4 separate regions of the Homo sapiens genome follow, and all the other regions are linked to region 2. The links are contacts of gene promoters, found by promoter capture Hi-C in blood cells and fetal thymus (Javierre and others, 2016). All regions are on one chromosome and are shown on one strand. The core of a region is centred on a gene start or on the middle of the fragment in contact, and the rest is flanking DNA. Distances in the headings are between cores, read along the strand shown.

Region 1 (4,497 bases), core at 1,520-4,019, 1.2 Mb before region 2:
CTTTCCACGTAAAAAGCCCTTATATTTGAAGAAGAAAATAATATATTGCTCAAAGGGAAAAAGAGAAATAAGTGAACAAAAGATATAAATAGGAAATTTACAAATGGAGACATAAAAGTGACCAATAAACATATGAAAAATATTCAATTTCATTAATAAGCAAAGACATGGAAATTATGACCATCTATTTTATTTTCCGTATATCGAATTTTTATTTTAAGATCAGGCAGTATGATTAGGTTAGGGAGAAAATGTGCATTTCAAACAGTGTTGAGAAAAGTATAAAGTGGAATAATCTTCCTAGAAAATAATCTGGCACTGTATATCAAAGCTCTAAAAATGTAAATTCCATGTGATGTTAAAAATTCTCTTCTAGGAATTCCAAGGAAATAATTATGATTTTTGAGGAAAAAAATCATTTCTGCAAGGATTTTCATGCTTCTTATTTTTAGCAGGAAAATAATTTGAAAAAAATACCCAAACATCTTATAATTGGAGATAGTTTGCAAAAAATATGATGCATAAAAATGACATCAAATTTAAAAATTATACTATAGGAAGAGTGCAATAATGTAGAATGATATTTTAATTTAAAATTGTGAGAAATCAGTTGCAAACAATAGTCAGGTCCTAAAATACATTTAGTTTCAAAGATCACAATTTACAAATGTTTATTTATAAGTGATGAGATTACTCCTGACTTTATACTCTTCTGATTTTTGGCTCAACCTTATAAACTCTTCTTTGAATTATTTTGTAAGGAGGAAATGATAACAATTAGATTTAAAAGAGTAGAGATAAAGGGACAAGGGACCATGAAGAGAATGGAAATAAAGAAAGGAAGCAGAGAAAGCAAAAAGCAGAGCTCACTTGGTAAGGCACCCTGGAGCCAGCAAATTATTTTTACCACATGTATTAGTTCCTTCTCACACTGATTTAAAGATACTCTTCGAGACTGGGTAATTTATTAAGGAAAGAGGTTTAACTGACTCACAGTTCTACATGGCTGGGGAGGCCTCAGGAAACTTACAATCATGGTGGAAGGCAAAGGGGAAGGAACGACCTTCTTCCCATGGTGGCAGGAGAGAGAAGTGCAAGCAGGGAAATGCCAGATACTTATAAAACCATCTGATCTCATGAGAACTCACCCACTATCATGAGAACAGCATGGGGGAAACCACCCCCATGATCCAATCACCTCCCACTAGGTCTTTCCCTCAACACCTGGGATTATAATTCAAGATGAGATTTGGATGGAGAAACAAAGCCTAACCATACCAACACATATTGCTTTATTTGATATTTGACAGGTGTTTCTGTCCCTGTTTTGTGGGCAAGTAGCTAAAGTTCCAGAGAAAACAGTTTTTCATAGCTCGTCAATGACAGACTTATTCTCCAAGTCACATTTGATGGTTCCAAGACCAGTCTTTATTCTTGGTGGAGTTGGGCTGAGAAGAAAGAGGAGAAGAAAGAAGAAAAGAAAGCTTCCTTAGAAACTATGATTTGACAGTGTAAGTAGGACTATTTCCTCCAGAAGTAACCATAAGAAGATATTAAATGCCTATTACAGTCTTATCCCCTTAGATTTATTTAACACTTATAAAGCAATTATCATGTTCCAGACACTATTTTAAGTATATTACGAGTATTATAGCATTGAAGGCTCAGAGCGGCCCAAATAAATCGATCATATTATTAAACCTATTTTACACAGGAGAAACTGAGGTACACGCCAGGTGAATAACCTTGCCTAGGGATGCACAATTCATAAGTGATAGAGATGGGATTCAGACAGAGGTATTCTGTCTCCAGAATCTGGGCTCCTCACCACTTTGCAAGAGCTTTAATTTCAGAAACTCCTATGAAGTGTCATGAGGAGAAGCCCATTATGATCCCCTAGAAGTAATTATAGTTTTAGGAGCATGCAAAGCAGACCCCTCAGGAAGATAAGTTACACAATAGACATTTGGATAAGGTGGATCCAGCAGAACAAAGAGAGGGTGGTGACATCGAGATTGCAGAGGAATTGGAGAAGGCAATGGAAGTGTACACATGTTGCCCTCAAAAACATAGGGTCCTCCATTGGGTTCCTATCAGGGCAGCAACATCAGAGTTTCTATTCTGTATTTATACTAGAAACCTCTCTCCAGGGTTTCTAAGTTTTCACCTATGTTTTAAAGACTATCTATAGGTTATTAGTCTATTTAATATTTAGGTGTATCCAGAAAGCTGATGGTCATCAGCTCATAGCAGGTGTTCTTTGGCTGGTGTGTTTATGTTGTGGGACAGTGGGTTACTTGCAAGGAAAGGATGAATGGCTGGAGTAGATGGTGCTTGTGCTCTGCATGTATTCCCTTCTTACTTCCCATTTCCATCAGACCTACCACTTTTTGCCTGACATTATCTGTTGCAACATGAGCCCATGGATAGGTGTGTTTGAAGTAGGGGAATGGGAGAGAGGGTTCCCTAGCTAATGATGTACAGCAGTAGGTGGATAAATACCTCAGCTCTCTTTGCTCAGGTAACTGAAGCATTTTCTAATATGGTCACCCAGTGTTCCTTGGAAGGATTGAGTCCCAGTTGCCCCCTGAGGTTGCCTGCCCATGAACACACCCTCTTTTATTGGCTTCCTTCCCATTCTTTTCTCACTTCCCCATTCCTTCAATTCATTGAGATTGTTTCCAAATAAGATGACTTGCTCTCACATCTCTGTGTCATTTTTGGCTTCTTGAAGTATGCAAACCAGGATAATAGCTAACTGAAGGCTATAGATAGCCACAGGCAAATTTAAGTAACAGTGTAAGAATATTCATACTTGGCAGAGATTTATTTATAAAAACTCAGAAAATTCACATGGAATTATGAAGTTATTATTGTATTTATTCCATCATTCCCAGAAAGAATATGGAAATCCTCTCAAGCAAGCCAGTCCTTGGGAATATTGGGAAATCTATGCAATTTGTTGTGGAGTATTTTTTTTTTTGTTACCCTCCTAAATATCTGGCCGCTAAGCATTCCTGTCTCCAGGGACTTAGACCCTAGCAAGGAAGAGAAGTTGGGGCCAGGTTCAGAAAACGGGTTAGTTATCAATCTCCCTGGAGAAGTGTCCCCCTCAGCAGGGTCAGTGAGAGTAAGTGAAACCCATTGGTGCCCACAGGCAATGGTCTGGCCTGAGTAATTAGAATGGGCCTCCAGAAAGTTCTGGGAATTGCTATGGTGCCATAGTCTCATTTTCCCCGTTGACTCTCCAGATTTATTCAGAGTCCAACTTCAAGGGCCTTTCTGCCCTTCCTCTCACAACTGTGGAATAATAATAATCCACCTTATTAACTGGGACCGAGAACTGAGCTCGACTCTTATTTTTTTGAGACAGAGTCTTGCTCTGTCACCAGACTGGAGTGCAGTGGCACTATCTCAGCTCACTGCAACCTCTGCCTCCCAGGTTCAAGCGATTCCCCTGCCTCAGCCTCCTGGGTAGCTAGGACTATAGGCACGCACCGCGACGGCTGGCTAATTTTTTGTATTTTAGTATAGACAGGGTTTCACCATGTTGGCCAGGATGGTCTTGATCTCCTGACCTCATGATCTGCCTGCCTTGGCCTCCCAAAGTGCTGGGATTACATGCGTGAGCCACCGCGCCCTGTCTGAACTCTACTTTTTTACACTGCTGCATGTTTGTAGAGTGACCAATGAAGCTATACTTTTTTCATTTTCAAAATGATGATGAATACAAGGTTATCAAATAAAACACAGAGGGCCCATTATGTTTGAATTTCAGATAAACAACAAATCATAGGTGTCCTGTATGTTTGCTCAATCTGGCAACCCTGGATGAATAAGAGCTCTCACCTGAGGATTTCTTGTGAGGATTCATGAAATAAATGCTAGAAATGCTTACACACTATCTTTATTTGCCCCTCAGAGCCCAAAGTCTCTGAAATCTTTATCTTTCACACACAAAAACTCACTTTCAGAAAAGTATATTCCATTTACATCTAGTGGAAATAAAAATTGTTCTTTTTCTTTGTGAAAAATATTTTTATTTTAAGCTTTATGCAGAAACCTCAGGGAAAAAAAGGTACTTTTAGGAGCCAGGCTTGTAATGTAAATGTCCAAAAAAGATGAAATTGAAACAAACAAACAAACAAACAAACAAACAAACAAACAAAAAACAGTGCAAGCTCCTGTGTGGAGACTGCAGTGAGTCTGAGATTGCATGTTCCATCAGAAGGGGGCAGCCACATCTTAGCTCTTGATGACCCAAGGGAGCAGGGATGTGGGGTTGCCAAATCTTCCAAAATTTTAAGAAGCCAGAAATCTTGATTTCTATGTACAATCTCCTGGTTTTTAAATGTGGGCAAATAAATCAAAATTCCCTAAAACACTGTTTGGGGCAACAATGTGTGGGCCAAAGTAAATACTTTTGTGGGCTACAAGTGTCCCCTAGGCTGTACATCTGGGACATCTGATTTATGTGGAAATTTACCGAGAACTAGT
Region 2 (4,214 bases), core at 775-3,274:
CATATAAACACACATAAATGGTGCATGTGACTTCCTTAGAGGCACTGTATAGAACTTCCTGACACACACACACACACACACACACACACACACACACCCTTATAGCTTCCAGACCCTGTAAGCTCAAGGCCACAACTTCTGAAGCCACTTATGACTTGTGTCCCAGGCCCCTACCCTCAGGGGTGTCTCGAAAGGCAGCTCCATCCCGCATCCCCACAGTGCAGTCAAGATACACATGTATCTTCCCGGGATTACGTAAATGGTGAATATCTATTAATGCACGTGTCAGCTGTTAAAAACACAGTACCAAGTGATCCTTCAGTACTGACCCCTCGCATTTCTGGAAACAAGTAGGGAGAACCCCAAACTCCTAGTACTTTCCTAAATGGGACACGGCTCTGAGCAAAGAAACCAAGTCTCCCGGAAACACTTGAAGAATGGAGATCACCATGGCAGAGCGGACAGGTTCTCAGCTAACGGGTGAAACCCAGGGGCTACCCTCTCAAAGGGATTTCTTTGACCCAAAAAAGTTTTTAAAAAAATTAAAAATAAATAAATAAATAAATAAAACACCTCATCTAAGTGTTAACAGCTCCAAAAGTATTCCAGGGAGAGGGGAAGAAAGAGGGGTGGAAGAGTGCGGGCCGGGAGGGTGAGGCTTACGGTCGCCCGGGGCAGCTGGAAGTGGGAGCCCCTGCAGGGCTCCGTTGCACGTGGACTGGAGAGGGGTCTGTTTACTTCTGGCCTGGACGTAAGGAAGGGCTCTACCGCAGTGGCTGCCCAAATCCCCCTCCCACCCACCACCCACCCCGGGCCCTGGCCCGCGTCCTCTACCTTTAGGAGACCGCAGTCCGTCTAAGAAGCACGCGGGGACACGTCCATTGAAAGAGCGTCCACATGGAAAAACTCTGGTCAAAGGACCTGGCGCAAGGACCGAATGTCCGTTCCTTTTCTTTGCCTCCTCCTTCTCCCGGGTGCCGGCCGCGCAGTCTCTCTTTTCACGCTGGGAACAGCGTCTCAGTGTCGGGCAAGGCCGAGGAGTGGAGGGGCGGTGGGGCTCGGAGATGGCGAAGCAGGCTCCGCTGGGGCAAAGGCACCGGCGCAAAGTGGGGTGCGCAAGTTATTCTCCCTGCAAGTTCAAGAAGTCCCCAGCCAAGTGCTGACACACAACAACAGCGAGCAGGGGGAGGAGTGCGGGGCAGGGAAGGGAAGGGAGAAAGGAGAAGCTGGTGCTGTCGTCCTCCTTAGGAACCAGCGCCCGAGGGACGCGTGGCCCCGCGCGGGGCCGGCTCCGGGACTCGGGGGTCGAGGGTCGGGCGCTCCGCGCTAGCTCCGCCGCGGCCCATGGCTCGGGGCAGCCATCCTGGGCGACGCCGGGTCCAGGGAAGGGCACGGCGGCGATCTCGGTGCCAGGCGAGTTGCCCCCCCGCATCACTCTGCCTTACTCCAGTGCACCCCCATTCGCGCTCGCCAGTTGAAAGCACCGCGGCTCTGGCGCCCCGTCGTCCTCGGGCGCATTCTCCGGCGAGTCGAGCCGAGTCCCGGGCCGCCGAGGCGGGTGGCTGTGCTCTCCCCTCGCTCTCCTAGCCCTGGGGCCAAGTGCCCTTTGTGGCTAGCCTGGGGTCCGATCACACCTCGGCCAGCGCGTCCCAGGCCCCCGATCTCCTGCAGTAGGTGCTCCGCATCGCGGCGCTAGGGATCGGCTCCGGAGTCCCCGGCGCTCTGCGCGCCCGTCCGCGGCTCTGGCGCAGCCCGGGCAGCAGAGGCCACGGCGCTGTGGCGCGCTCTGCCGGGTGCTCCAGCCCGCGCGGGGTCTGCGGCGCGCGGGTGCCTCGCGGTCCCCGGTGATCCACTCGGCGCTGGCCCCGAGAACGTTCGGGTAGCCGGCGGAGGCTGTGGCGGCAGATGTGCGGCGGCGGCTGCCAGTCCCCGGCGGGGTGTGGGAAGCGGAGCGACTAGCGCAGCGCGAGCCGGGCGCAGCGCGGCGGGGCGAGGACTCCGGCGGCGGCGACGGCGGCGGCGGCGCCGTGGCGCGGCGCTCGCGGCTTTTAAAGGGGACGCCGCCTGCCGGCTCCCTCCCGGCCGCGGCCGAACACCTCCCCCTTCGCGGCGCGGCTCGCCGGGGATCCCCGAGCGGGCGGGAGCTGCGCGCAGGGGTGTGGACGGCGCGCCCGGGCAGCCGCGGCGGGGTGGGGCGGAGGGCGGGGGCGCGCGGCCGCCAAGGGGGGCGCTCGCGCCTCCACTCCCTGCTCTCAAAGGAGAGATCAGCTGGCGCGCCGGACCCTCGCGGGGACTCTGGAGGCGAAATCCAGGACAAATGCAGGGTCAGGGTCTGGCCTCTTATTTCCCCGCTGGGCCCGTTATTCAACTTTCAGTTTGAAGTTTTTCGGTAATATACGATTTCAAAAAACAAAACAAAACAAAACACCTCAATTACAGCGTATTTTGGCATAGCATAGACGTGGGATCCACGCTTCTGTTTCCCCGGAATAGGAGGAAAATTAAAAGAAAACAGCAGGCTGGAAATTGAGTGTTTTTAAACATTAATACATAGAGATGTATGTATTTACATATGTAAATGCATGTGTACAAATTTTTTTACATAAATGTGTATGCATTTATTTTCATATCCATACGCATGTAAATTTATAGTTACATAAATATATCCAATATACAAAAATATGTGCATATATTTCTATAAATATATTCATGTATGAGAATATATGCAACCGAAGGGCCACATTTCGGTTAATATGTCTATGTATGTGACATGGATGTCATCCTGCTTTACGTGACATGTGTGTAACGTAGACTGCGTGTGTGGCAGACTGAAGGATGGATGGGAGGGATTTGATTTTTTTATTGTACAATCACTTTGTGCCTTGTGATATTTATCTCACCCAGCTCAGAGGCAGGCGATTAGCAGCTCAGAGGAAGGTAAAATAACGCACTGTGTGAACCAAGCATACAGGACAATTCCAGTTTGGGACCTTGGAACCTTCTACGCCACCCTCTTCCACCAGGCCCCCAAGAAGTAGGGCTGTGACACGTGGCCAAGTCACTCCTCAGCTGAATATTCACTGAAGTCACTCCTCAGCCGAAATACTGCTCAGAGCTGCTGCACGATGAGTCTGGGGCCAAGGCTTTCTGCCCTTCCCAGGATTCCAGGAGCCCCCATGCACAGCACCTCGGGCTTGCCCAAATGATCCCCAAAACCAAGGGCAGAAAATTTTTGGAAAAGGCCAAGTTCTGCTTTCCCAGAGCTATCGGGCCTGCGAAACAGAGAGAAAAAAGTCAGAAGCAGGAGCTGGTAATAGAACTATTATCCATGTGTATTATTTTTTCGGTAGGGGAGCTAAAATAATACTAGGTTCCGCTCACGTAAATCGGATTAGCAACCCACAGAGGCGAATTAGGCACTTGCTGTTTCTAAAGGTATAAAGGTCAAATAAGGTATTTTGGAGGAAGCCTGACTACCAGGAAAATAAAAGGGGGTGGGGGAATTATTCAGGAACATGCTACTTTATTTCCTGAAAAAAAAAAAAAAGGTGCTATAGAAGTTGATTGTCACTCAGAGTCATTGCACCGCAAACAAGGAGGCAATAAAACATATCCTACTCATGGACACAGGGCTTCTGAAATTATTTCCTTTCCTATCAAGTTTAATTGAGAAGTTAACAATTGTTTCTCTCATTACTTAGATTTCAAAAACAAAACAAAACAAAACTTCAATGAGATTTAAGTAGCTTTTAAAGAGGAGGAAAAGTTGATAACTATTGGATGCACCCGAAGAAAAAATAAATAAATATCCTGTGATGACCTCAAGGATGTCTTGCAGCTTTAGAACTTCATAACCTGGTAAGTGGAAACCTTGTCAGTTTAGAATCTGAGGGAAAATGGGTACTTCTGAACACTGTTTCATGTTAGTGCTGCCCATTGCAGAATCTCTTTTATGTAGGGTGTATGATTTCTGAGGAACTACTGAATGCTTGTTCCAAGCACAACTTACATAAATTTTGGCCCTATTTTTTTTTTTTTAGAGATGGCTGCCCTCTTGTGGTGGAAATGAGTTCGAACGCTTGAAAGAAAGAAGTCCATAAATAAATAAATAAATAAATAAGTAGTCTCCAGAGACTGATTTGGGATCGAAGTACAGGATGACTGTACCTACCCGTTTTCCAGGGAAGAGCAATAGTCAGAAATGATAAATCTAA
Region 3 (4,260 bases), core at 326-2,825, 1.1 Mb before region 2:
GCACTGGGTGACCAGCTGTCCTGGTTTGCCTGGCACCATCCTGCTTTCACACTAAATTATCTTGAGATATCTTTTAGTCTTAAGCAAACTGGAATTGTTGGTCATCCTTGAAGCCTGTAAATTCCCAGGTACTTCTGACTCCCTGGGCAGCAAAGTGGCTCCAGTTGCCCAAGATCAGTCTTCTGAATGGAGTCACAGGTGCAAGCCATGTGAAACAAAGTCCACTAAAGCTTGTGGATGGGCATACAGACATGACAAGAGCCTCTGAATGGAGCTCAGCCATCTTCCCTGTAGCAGGTACTATCCTCTACCCAGTTTTCTAAGAAACAACATGGGGTCGATGGAGACTATTGTAGATGTGGGATTGAGGGCAGGAGTTGCAGATGAGGAATGCATTTCATTCTGTACGTCAAGTTCTTAGTCCTAGTGGGACTTAAGGACTATGATATGTAGGTTCAGGACTAGTCAAGATTTCCAAGCAGATTTATAGAGGGCATTAGCACTGAATTAAGTTGGCTACGAATCTGTAAGTGTGAAATTCACAGAGTGGACTTGAACAAAATCTCTGTAGTTATCAAGTGGGTAGGAGGTAATGAAGCAATTGCCCATCAGTGAGTCTCTCTCAACATGCTGCTTCTCTGGCCACTATGAGGTTCAGTTTTGGAAGTGCATGACATATATGTAATGAAAATTGAGGACATGGCGAATGTAGCTTCAAAGAGGATATAATGAAAATGAGAGTGAACATTCCCTAGCCCTGCCCAAGACAGGTGGAATCCCACATTTCTTTTGATTTAACTTCTAAGAGTTAACAATAACTACCCAAAATAAATAGCGAATATTAGTCAAAATTTACCTTTTTCTTGTCCTCTGTTCTTGCCTTCTAAACATAAGGGTGAGATTTTTTTTTGTTGTGTTTCTCTCTTGGCTTATAAATATAAAATACAGTGAGTGAGAAGTTGGTCCATTGACTAGCTTGGGCAGACATACTTGGTAATAGTTGCATGTATTTAACTTTGTGTGTTGGCAGTGATAACAACCTCAAGTTTCATGCTTGCTTCTTGCATTGTTTTGCCCAGTTTTTCAAGTTCCTTATGGAGCAGCTCACGTAGAGGATTTATTGTAGGAGTGCTTTCTTCTGCCCAAAGCAATACATTATCCACATGAAAGGATATCTCACACAGCCCCATGCTGCATTACTGCAGAGGAGAAACGAGGACCTGAAGAAATTGTTTCTAGCTAAATAGCTGTAGAAGAATTGCCCAAACAGTAAACATAGTACCCAGTAGGTAGTATTTCAATTCTTTTCTCCCCTTTTTCCCTCCTCCCTTTTGGAATCTCCCGTGTTTATTGTTCTCATCTTTGTATCTCTGTGTGCACAATATTTAGCACCCACTTAAAAGTGAGAACTTGCAGTATTTGGTTTTCTGTTTCTGTGTTAATTCACTTAGGATAACGGCCTCCAGCTGCATCCATGTTGGTGCAAAGGACATGATTTTGTTCTTTTTTATGGCTGTGTAGTATTCCATGGCGTATATGTACCACACATTTTCTTTGTCCAATCCACCACTGATGGGCATCTCGGGTGATTCCATGTCTTTGCTATGGTGAATAGAGATGTGATGAACATACAAGTGTAGGTGCCTTTTTGGTAGAAGAATTTATTTTCTTTTGAGTGTGTACCCAGTAATGAGATTGCTAGGTCAAGTAGCAATTCTATTTTTCATTCTTTCAGAAATCTCCAAGCTGCTTTCCACAGTGGATAAACTAATTTGCATTTCCACCAAAGTATATAAGCATTCTCTTTTCTCTGCAACCTTGCCAACATCTGTTATTTTTTGACTTTTTGATAATAGCCATTCTGATTGTTTTGAGGTGGTATCCCATAGTGGTTTTGATTTTCATCCTTCCGATGATTAGTGATGGTGAACATTTTTTTCATGTTTCTTGACCACTTGCATGTCTTCTTTTGAGAAGTGTCTATTCGTGGCATTAACTCACTTTTTAATGGGATTCTTTTTTCTTGTTGATGTGCCTTTTCCCCATTGTTTATTTTTGTCGAATTTGTTGAAGACCAGATCATTGTAGGTGTGAAGAATCTATTTCTGAATTACTTATTATAAATATTTTGGAAGGGCAAATACTGATGGTTGAAGACATACAAATTCACTAAAATTGAGAACGATAAAATTATGACTAGGCTATTAAAGTTATAGAGAGGTGAATTTATGGCATGGTAAAAGAATAATATTTATTGAAACACCATCTTAAAAATGGCACAGATCAAAAATATGGCTAGCTTTGCAACATTTTAGTTCTCATTTCATTACAGCTTTTGAGGTCTGAGGGAGAGCTTACCTAAGCAATTAAGCTACTGGTTAAGAAATTTTGTGTACATCTTAAGACTTTATATGACTGATGAGAGTTATTACTCAAGTACATAATACGAATGAGGATTTTGAATTGCAGCACATTGTAGGCAGTAAATAAAGACTTGCTGAATGAATGGATATTTTTTCTACCAATGATGAACTTCGATGCAAAGAAATGGCATGACTAAATGTTCAAGATATTTCTGTTGCAGGAAATTCATAAAAAGTAAGAGTAACTATCTATTTCTAAAACAACATCTATCAGAAATCAGTCTGGTCAGATTCTACCTTCAAATGTACAATGTCAGAACTAGAAAGGTTATGAAGACTAACACACTTTACTTTTTACCCTACTGACGACATTCTCTGAAAATTCAGTTTTCTTGAATGTCACTCTAATACCAAAGTATTTTCCCCAATTAAAGACCAAGTAATTATGTCATTTAGGGATAGCATTTTCTCTAGATAAAGTTTGGCCTCTCTGTTTTCACTTAACACCAAATGGATTACTTCAAATGGATAGCTACAGATCAATTAAATCAAGCTTTGAATTTTTAAAAAGTTTTACTGAATTTTTATATTTTCCAAGCATAATCTTCATCATGTGGCGAAGCTTTAATTACAAGATTACAGAAAGCCAAAGACTTCTAAGCCTTTAGGGCTTTGCTCATATTTTCTTCTCTTACTGCCCATTTTCCTCAATCAACCTGGTGAATGGATGGTTAGTGGACATAAACCAGGTTAATGCTTATGCCCTCATAATTGTTTTTTCTTACTGACCATGCTCTATACCCCTCCCTTTGGTGACCCTGCCTTCCTCTCTTGTGCTCCTGAAGCTTCCCATCATCATTCTGATACTATTGTGCCATAATTTCTGACTTTATGTATCTATATATCCTCCCTAGGATGGTGAGCTGTTTTAGGATAGTTCCTTTGTCTTTCGATTCACCACAATAACCTGAGTTTATTTTTAGCACAATACCTTACATAACAGACATATAGAAAATAATTGTTAAATAGGCAAATTTTAATAGTGGACTAGAGACCTTGGGAAGCAGCAAGGAAACCACTGATTAGATAAATATTAATGTGGCAAACTGGCTTTCATTGTTGTGAGGGTTCTTAACAGTTTTTCTCCCACTTCTCGCTGATTTACTATCACTCCTGGCATCATAAATTCAAGTCAATAAATGTTCTGCATATATGGGGCAACATTTGAACTCTTTGGAGCAGAGATGTCATGTAGGTTGTAGGAACAAATGTATGGCTCCATGAAGGTTGATAGGAATGTAAATTTTAAGCTGGAAAAGAAAGAGACAGCACTCAGAACTGTATATTCACTTATTTGTATTAGGTGAGCTACCAGAAAAAATTTTTAGAGGCATTTCATATGGATAAAAATTCATGTTAAAAGCATCTTCAAAGATTGCAACAAATGTACGCCCAATCCACTGTCCATATTTTTTGAGACAGGATCTTGCTCTGTCAGATAGCCTACAGTGCAGTAGAATGGTCATAGCTTCCTACAGCCTTGAACTACTGGGCTCTGGCAATCCTCCTGCTTCAGCATCCCAAGCAGCAGCTGGGACTACAAACATCAGCCACCAGGGCTGGAAAAATTGTATTTTTTGTAGAGATGGGGTCTCACTTTGTTCCCGAGGCTGGTCTCAAACTCCTGGCCTCAAGCGAATCTCCTGTCTTGGTTTCTTAAAGTGGTGAGATTATAGGCATGAGCCACTGTGCCTAGCCTTACTCTGTATAACAAATTTTGATTCTTAAAATATTCATAATGTAACCAACTATTCATATTGGACTAAAAACTTACCAATTAAGTTTCCATTATTTAAAAATATAGGATATTTGAGGCAGGAGTCACTATTCATTTTAT
Region 4 (4,868 bases), core at 485-2,984, 2.0 Mb before region 2:
CGCGACTCTTCCATGCAATGCGTGGCCAGCACATAGCTCAGTGATCTTGTGTTGACATTTTTCCCAAGGCCAGAGAGGACCTTGCAGAAGTCAAAGAAGTTAGGAGCTGGGGCAGGAACTCTGGGGCTTTGGCAGCAAAGTCACTACATAAAAATCGTGAAGGGCCAACTTTATCCTATGATTTGTCTGCAAGCTTATTTGATGGATGTATTGTCATCACAACGAAGTGCATATCGTAGAAAATGCTGATATTATTTTTAAGAGGGCAGGATAACATGGGTAAGTCCTTAAATATCAGCATGATTGGAAATCTAACTCCATCAGAAATAATTCAGCTTCATATGTAGCCAATATACACTCATTTAAATGAATTGTTTTTCCCCTGAAGAATTAATGGACATTTCTGCTAGGTTAAATATTCATATCAGTATGAAGCATTACATTCTTCCATAGCTATGGGCTTCAGTCAGACCCAGAAATATCCGTTATATAAAAAAGATTTTCAAGTAAAAAGTCAGCGAGGTTGTTCTAAATGGTTCGAAAGTTCTAAATTGATTTAACTACTATCTTTCAGGGCTCACACAATGCAATAGCACGATGAGCCCAATAGATGGCAATAATGGTTCAACAATGAAGTAACTTGCACCCCTGCCCACTGCCAGCCTTCTGAAAGTTAGCTGCCCTACTCGATTTATATAAATGGAGACAGTACCACTGCACTGTCCTCTGAGAAGCTTATAAAAGTTTTCATTTGGCTGACACAGTTCAATTACTGAATGACAGTAGTGAAAAAAGTATTGCTTAAAAATCTCCAGGGGAAAAAAGATTTCTGGGACCAGCAAGGGTTTTTATGTATTGGATTGTTTATTAAGGAAAGCCACATACAACCACTTTATAATGCTGATATTGTGTTAGTTAATAAGGTGAATCGATTATATTTTGGATAGAAAACGTATCTTACTACAATATTAGAGACACATTCTTTTAGGGTATTGCCACTTAAGCATTTTTATAATGAAATTTTTGTCCCAAGTTCTTATTACCTTTTTTTTTTAAAAAAAAAAAATCAGAGAGGGGATTCTTTTAATTAAATAATTAAAAAATTGTTTGGCAGAGCTTTCTATAAAATACTTCATGGGACCCAACAATTCGCAGTCATTTCAAATAGCCAATCAGGTCATTCTTTAGTGTCTGTGGGAAAGAAAGAATTTGTCTTTCTTTACTGTAAAAAGCAGAAACCTGATTTTTCTCCTGTAAATCTTTGGAGGGATGTTGGGGGAATCTTGTTGAACTATAAAAAATATCTTAGGTTACCCTAGTTCCTTAGGACAAGTCTACTAGCAAAGGGCTGAATCCTGCAAGAGGCATCTGGCCAACAGGGGCCATGATAAGTAAACTAGCTTTGAAATACAATACCTGTCACGTTTTTCAAGTTACTTGAGTTCCCAGTACTGTGAACATCTACGAACCAAATGGTAAATTAGCGGTGCTCTTTATTCAGGTACCTACATATTAAAATGTCCAAAAGTTTCCACTGATTGCATAATAGACAACAGGGCTAGCTTAGGAAATCTACTGAATAACTAACAGATTGTTGCCCTTTCTCTATATTAAGCAATAATGTTCACTGCCTGTAAAAATCGTCATTTGTGTTATGCATCCTGTTAATAAGAGGCAGAGAACTGGTAGTGGGAAAGGCAGATGGTAAAAAACACAAGCACCCACATGCAAAGGAAGACAAGGTTTGCTTGCTATCATTCAACGGATAGAGTTGTGTTAGGAAATAGGTGTGAATGAAAGGCCTGTTAATGATACTCACTTCCAAACTTCAAAGAGAACATTTTTACTGAGTACAGAAATTATTTTTGAAAAAATGTTGAAAGACATGCACAATAATGATGAAAGTACACATTCAAAAGCTACAGGACAAAACCCTTTCAAAGAATTATATAACGTCTGTTGATAAAGATTTTAATCGAAACAATAAAAAAACAGGCAATTGAGACAGAAAAATAGAAGAAAAGATAAATCAGAGTCTCAGGCTACTTTTTTTTAACCCTGATTGTCCTAGAGTTTATATTTTAATTATTTTAAAATCTTATAACTGATGTATAACAGGCGTACAGAAAAGTACACGTCGTAAGTCCACAGTGCAAAGAATTTTCACCAAATAAACGTGTCTGAGTAAATGATATCCAGATCAAGAAACAAAATATAACCAATCTCTAGAAGGCTCTTGGGCTCCCTGCTGGTTGCTTTTCTTCCAAGGGAACCCATTATCCTGACTTCTAATAAATAGCATAAATTAGTTTTGCCTGTTTTTGTGTGTTATATAGGTTAAATCATACAGTATGTAGTTTTTGTGTACCTGACTTCCTTTGCTCAATATTATGTTTATTTATAGTGATTCATCCATAGTTTTCATTTAGTTATAGATTATTCTCATGGCTGCATATTCTTTCTTTGTGTGAATATACCATAATTCATTTATCTGTTGACGAGTATTTGGTGTCCAGTATTTGGCTATTCTGAATACCTCTGCTTTAAGCAATTCTTGTACGTGTCTCTTGGTAAACCTAAATACACATCTTTAGCAAGCATATACCTAGGAATGGAACTCCCGAGGTACAGGGAGTGCATATATTCAGCTTTTGTAGACACTGCTAAGTAGTTTTCCAATTGATTGTTCCTATGTTTAACTTATAACTGAAAAACTTCCTACAGTCAAGCTTAAAAGTTTCTTCCACTTAATCACCCTGCAATCAGGAGATGTCTATAATGCGATTTTCAGATTGCCAAGCTTCTGACTGAACTTGGAAGATAAATCAGACTAAATGACAAATAATCCCAAGGAAATGAGTGCCACTGAATTCTTTTCTCATCAACCACAGCAATCTATTTCACCCTTAATTTAAAAGGAAAAGAAATGATATTAGGCATCCTCTAGGAGCTTCAAAAGATAATTTAAGTAATTTTGCCATGTCACAGATTTTAAAAAGTTCTTTAAAACATGAAAAAATTGAAATGCCCAGAACTCTTCAGCATATCATCAATGACAATGCATCCAGTGCTCAGTTCTATAGTTAATATTTCCCATTATGAAGCTTAAAGTCATATGGTCACTCTGAAGACTATTTGGCTTACATGGTAGCCAGAATAATGACCTCCCAGAGATGTCTCTGCTCCATGAATATGTTAGCTTGCATGATAAAAGGGACATTGCAGGTGAGATGGAGTTAAAGACCTTGACATGGGAGCAATTATCCTGGATTATCTGGATGGATCCAATGTAATGACTTGAGTTCTTGCCAGCAGAGGACATTTCCTGCCTGTGGTCAGAGGGAGATGTGACCACAGGAGAAAGGTTAGTGAAATGCAGCCTTGCTGGCTTTGAAGCTGGAAGGAGCCCCAAGCCAACGAATGTGGGTGGCCTCTAGAAGCTGGAAAAAGCAAGGAAACAGCTTCTCCCTTAGCGCCTCCAGGAAGGAACACAGCCCGGCTGACACCTGGAGTGTAGCCCAGTGAAACCCAGGGGGCTTCCTGACTTACAGGACTAGAGGATAATACATTTGTGCTGGTTTAAGCCGCTAAGTTTGTAGCAGCAAGAGAAAACCAGTAGTTCAAAACTGTGCAGAAATAGGAATGTTCAAAGTCCTTCTAAGCTAATTTCAGAGCAGCAAATTCTTTTTTTTTTGAGACGGAGTCTCACTCTGTCACCAGGCTGGAGTGCAGTGGCTGGATCTTGTCTTACTGCAACATCTGCCTCCTAGGTTCAAGCGATTCTCCTGCCTCAGCCTCCCGAGTAGCTGGGACTACAGGTACGTGCCACTATGCCCAGATAATTTTTGTATTTTTGCAAGAGACAGGATTTCACCATGTTGGCCACCAAAGACACGGGGTTTCACCATGTTGGCCAGGATGGTCTCGAACTCCTGACCTCATAATCCACCTGCCTCAGCCTCCAAAAGTAGTAGTATTACAGGCATGAGCCACCACGCACAGCCCAGAGCAGCAATTCTTAAACCAACACAAAACATGACGGGGAGAGCCCACCAGCCCCTCACCGGCTCCTGGGGATGAGGGCTCGAACATGCTGGAGGAGTCACTGTAGGTGTTGGAGGCTTGTTCTGAGAGCTTCTTTTTGCCGCTTCCTTCTGATGACTTGTGTGATTTCTTCTTATTTTTCACCAAAATTTTATACATTAAATCCATAGGGCTTGGAAGAGGAACTCCAGATTCCAGCTAATAGAAATGAAAGGCATATTCTTTAAAAATACTGCTCCCTCTTTCAGATCCCCTCCCCAGACCCCCAGATCAGCTGTGGATACCAAATGTCTAGACTTCTTCCCTACCTTCAACACTGCTCATTAAACTCTTAGTGTATCTTACATGGGAGCTAATTTTTTTTTATATCAAAGATATATTTTCATTACTATACTTTTTTTTTCAACATATTCTACATGAAGAAGACCATAGAAATGTACTGGTAGATTTGATGTACTAAATCTGAACATTTATGAATTTTCCAATGGAACATAGAAACCCAATCATCTTGATTTAGGACAGATAAGAAGGCCCTGGCCTGAATTTTTGAAGGAGGGAAGCCAGGCATCTGCCAGGAGGAGTTGGTAAAGACGGGCAGAAGCTTCCAGGTGAGCCCATGAAATCATTTTTTCAGATGCCCCTTAAAATCAGCAAAATCCCCATCCTGGTACTAGGTAGTTTAGCTGCACGTCCCTGGCATCAACAGAAGTGGATGAGGTGGCTTCAGATTTCCTCCCAGCCCTAAGATTCAAGCTACCACATTTGCAAGCCTTATTTTGACTGTTTCAAGTTTGTACATCTAACGGGAAAATCAATTTCCCATG

The links. The method cuts DNA at HindIII sites, captures the fragments that hold promoters and counts their contacts. A CHiCAGO score of 5 or more calls a contact.
Region 1: a contact is called between a fragment that was not itself captured here and the fragment with the promoter of BMP2 in region 2, in 1 of 17 cell types (endothelial precursors). The highest score is 5.0, in endothelial precursors.
Region 3: a fragment that was not itself captured here is called in contact with the fragment with the promoter of BMP2 in region 2 in 1 of 17 cell types (endothelial precursors); the score reaches 7.7 in endothelial precursors.
Region 4: a contact is called between a fragment that was not itself captured here and the fragment with the promoter of BMP2 in region 2, in 1 of 17 cell types (total B cells). The highest score is 7.4, in total B cells.

What each region holds. Positions count from the first base shown.
Region 1 is chr20:7,928,732-7,933,228 of GRCh38, reverse strand. The region is part of intron 2 of HAO1 (hydroxyacid oxidase 1); the gene reads left to right. Among named protein-coding and RNA genes, the nearest start is that of HAO1, 9.5 kb to the left of the region's middle. The HindIII fragment of the contact is 2,565 bases long and covers 1,487-4,051 here.
Region 2 is chr20:6,765,496-6,769,709 of GRCh38, reverse strand. It overlaps BMP2 (bone morphogenetic protein 2), which reads right to left and starts at 2,024. Exons shown (of 3, transcript NM_001200.4): 1 at 835-2,024. It overlaps LOC105372517 (a long non-coding RNA gene), which reads left to right and starts at 2,226. Exons shown (of 4, transcript XR_937229.2): 1 at 2,226-2,389; 2 at 2,905-3,310; 3 at 3,702-3,858; 4 at 4,041-4,117. RefSeq lists cis regulatory regions at 1,345-1,519, 2,160-2,259, 2,266-3,056, silencers at 1,891-1,940, 2,031-2,080 and promoters at 970-2,129, 1,519-2,160, 970-4,214. The HindIII fragment of the contact is 17,330 bases long and covers 1-4,214 here.
Region 3 is chr20:7,861,140-7,865,399 of GRCh38, reverse strand. No RefSeq gene overlaps it. Among named protein-coding and RNA genes, the nearest start is that of HAO1, 77 kb to the left of the region's middle. The HindIII fragment of the contact is 2,686 bases long and covers 233-2,918 here.
Region 4 is chr20:8,717,045-8,721,912 of GRCh38, reverse strand. It overlaps PLCB1 (phospholipase C beta 1), which reads right to left. Exons shown (of 32, transcript NM_015192.4): 14 at 4,065-4,242. Among named protein-coding and RNA genes, the nearest start is that of RNU105B, 110 kb to the left of the region's middle. RefSeq lists a silencer at 497-791. The HindIII fragment of the contact is 1,995 bases long and covers 737-2,731 here.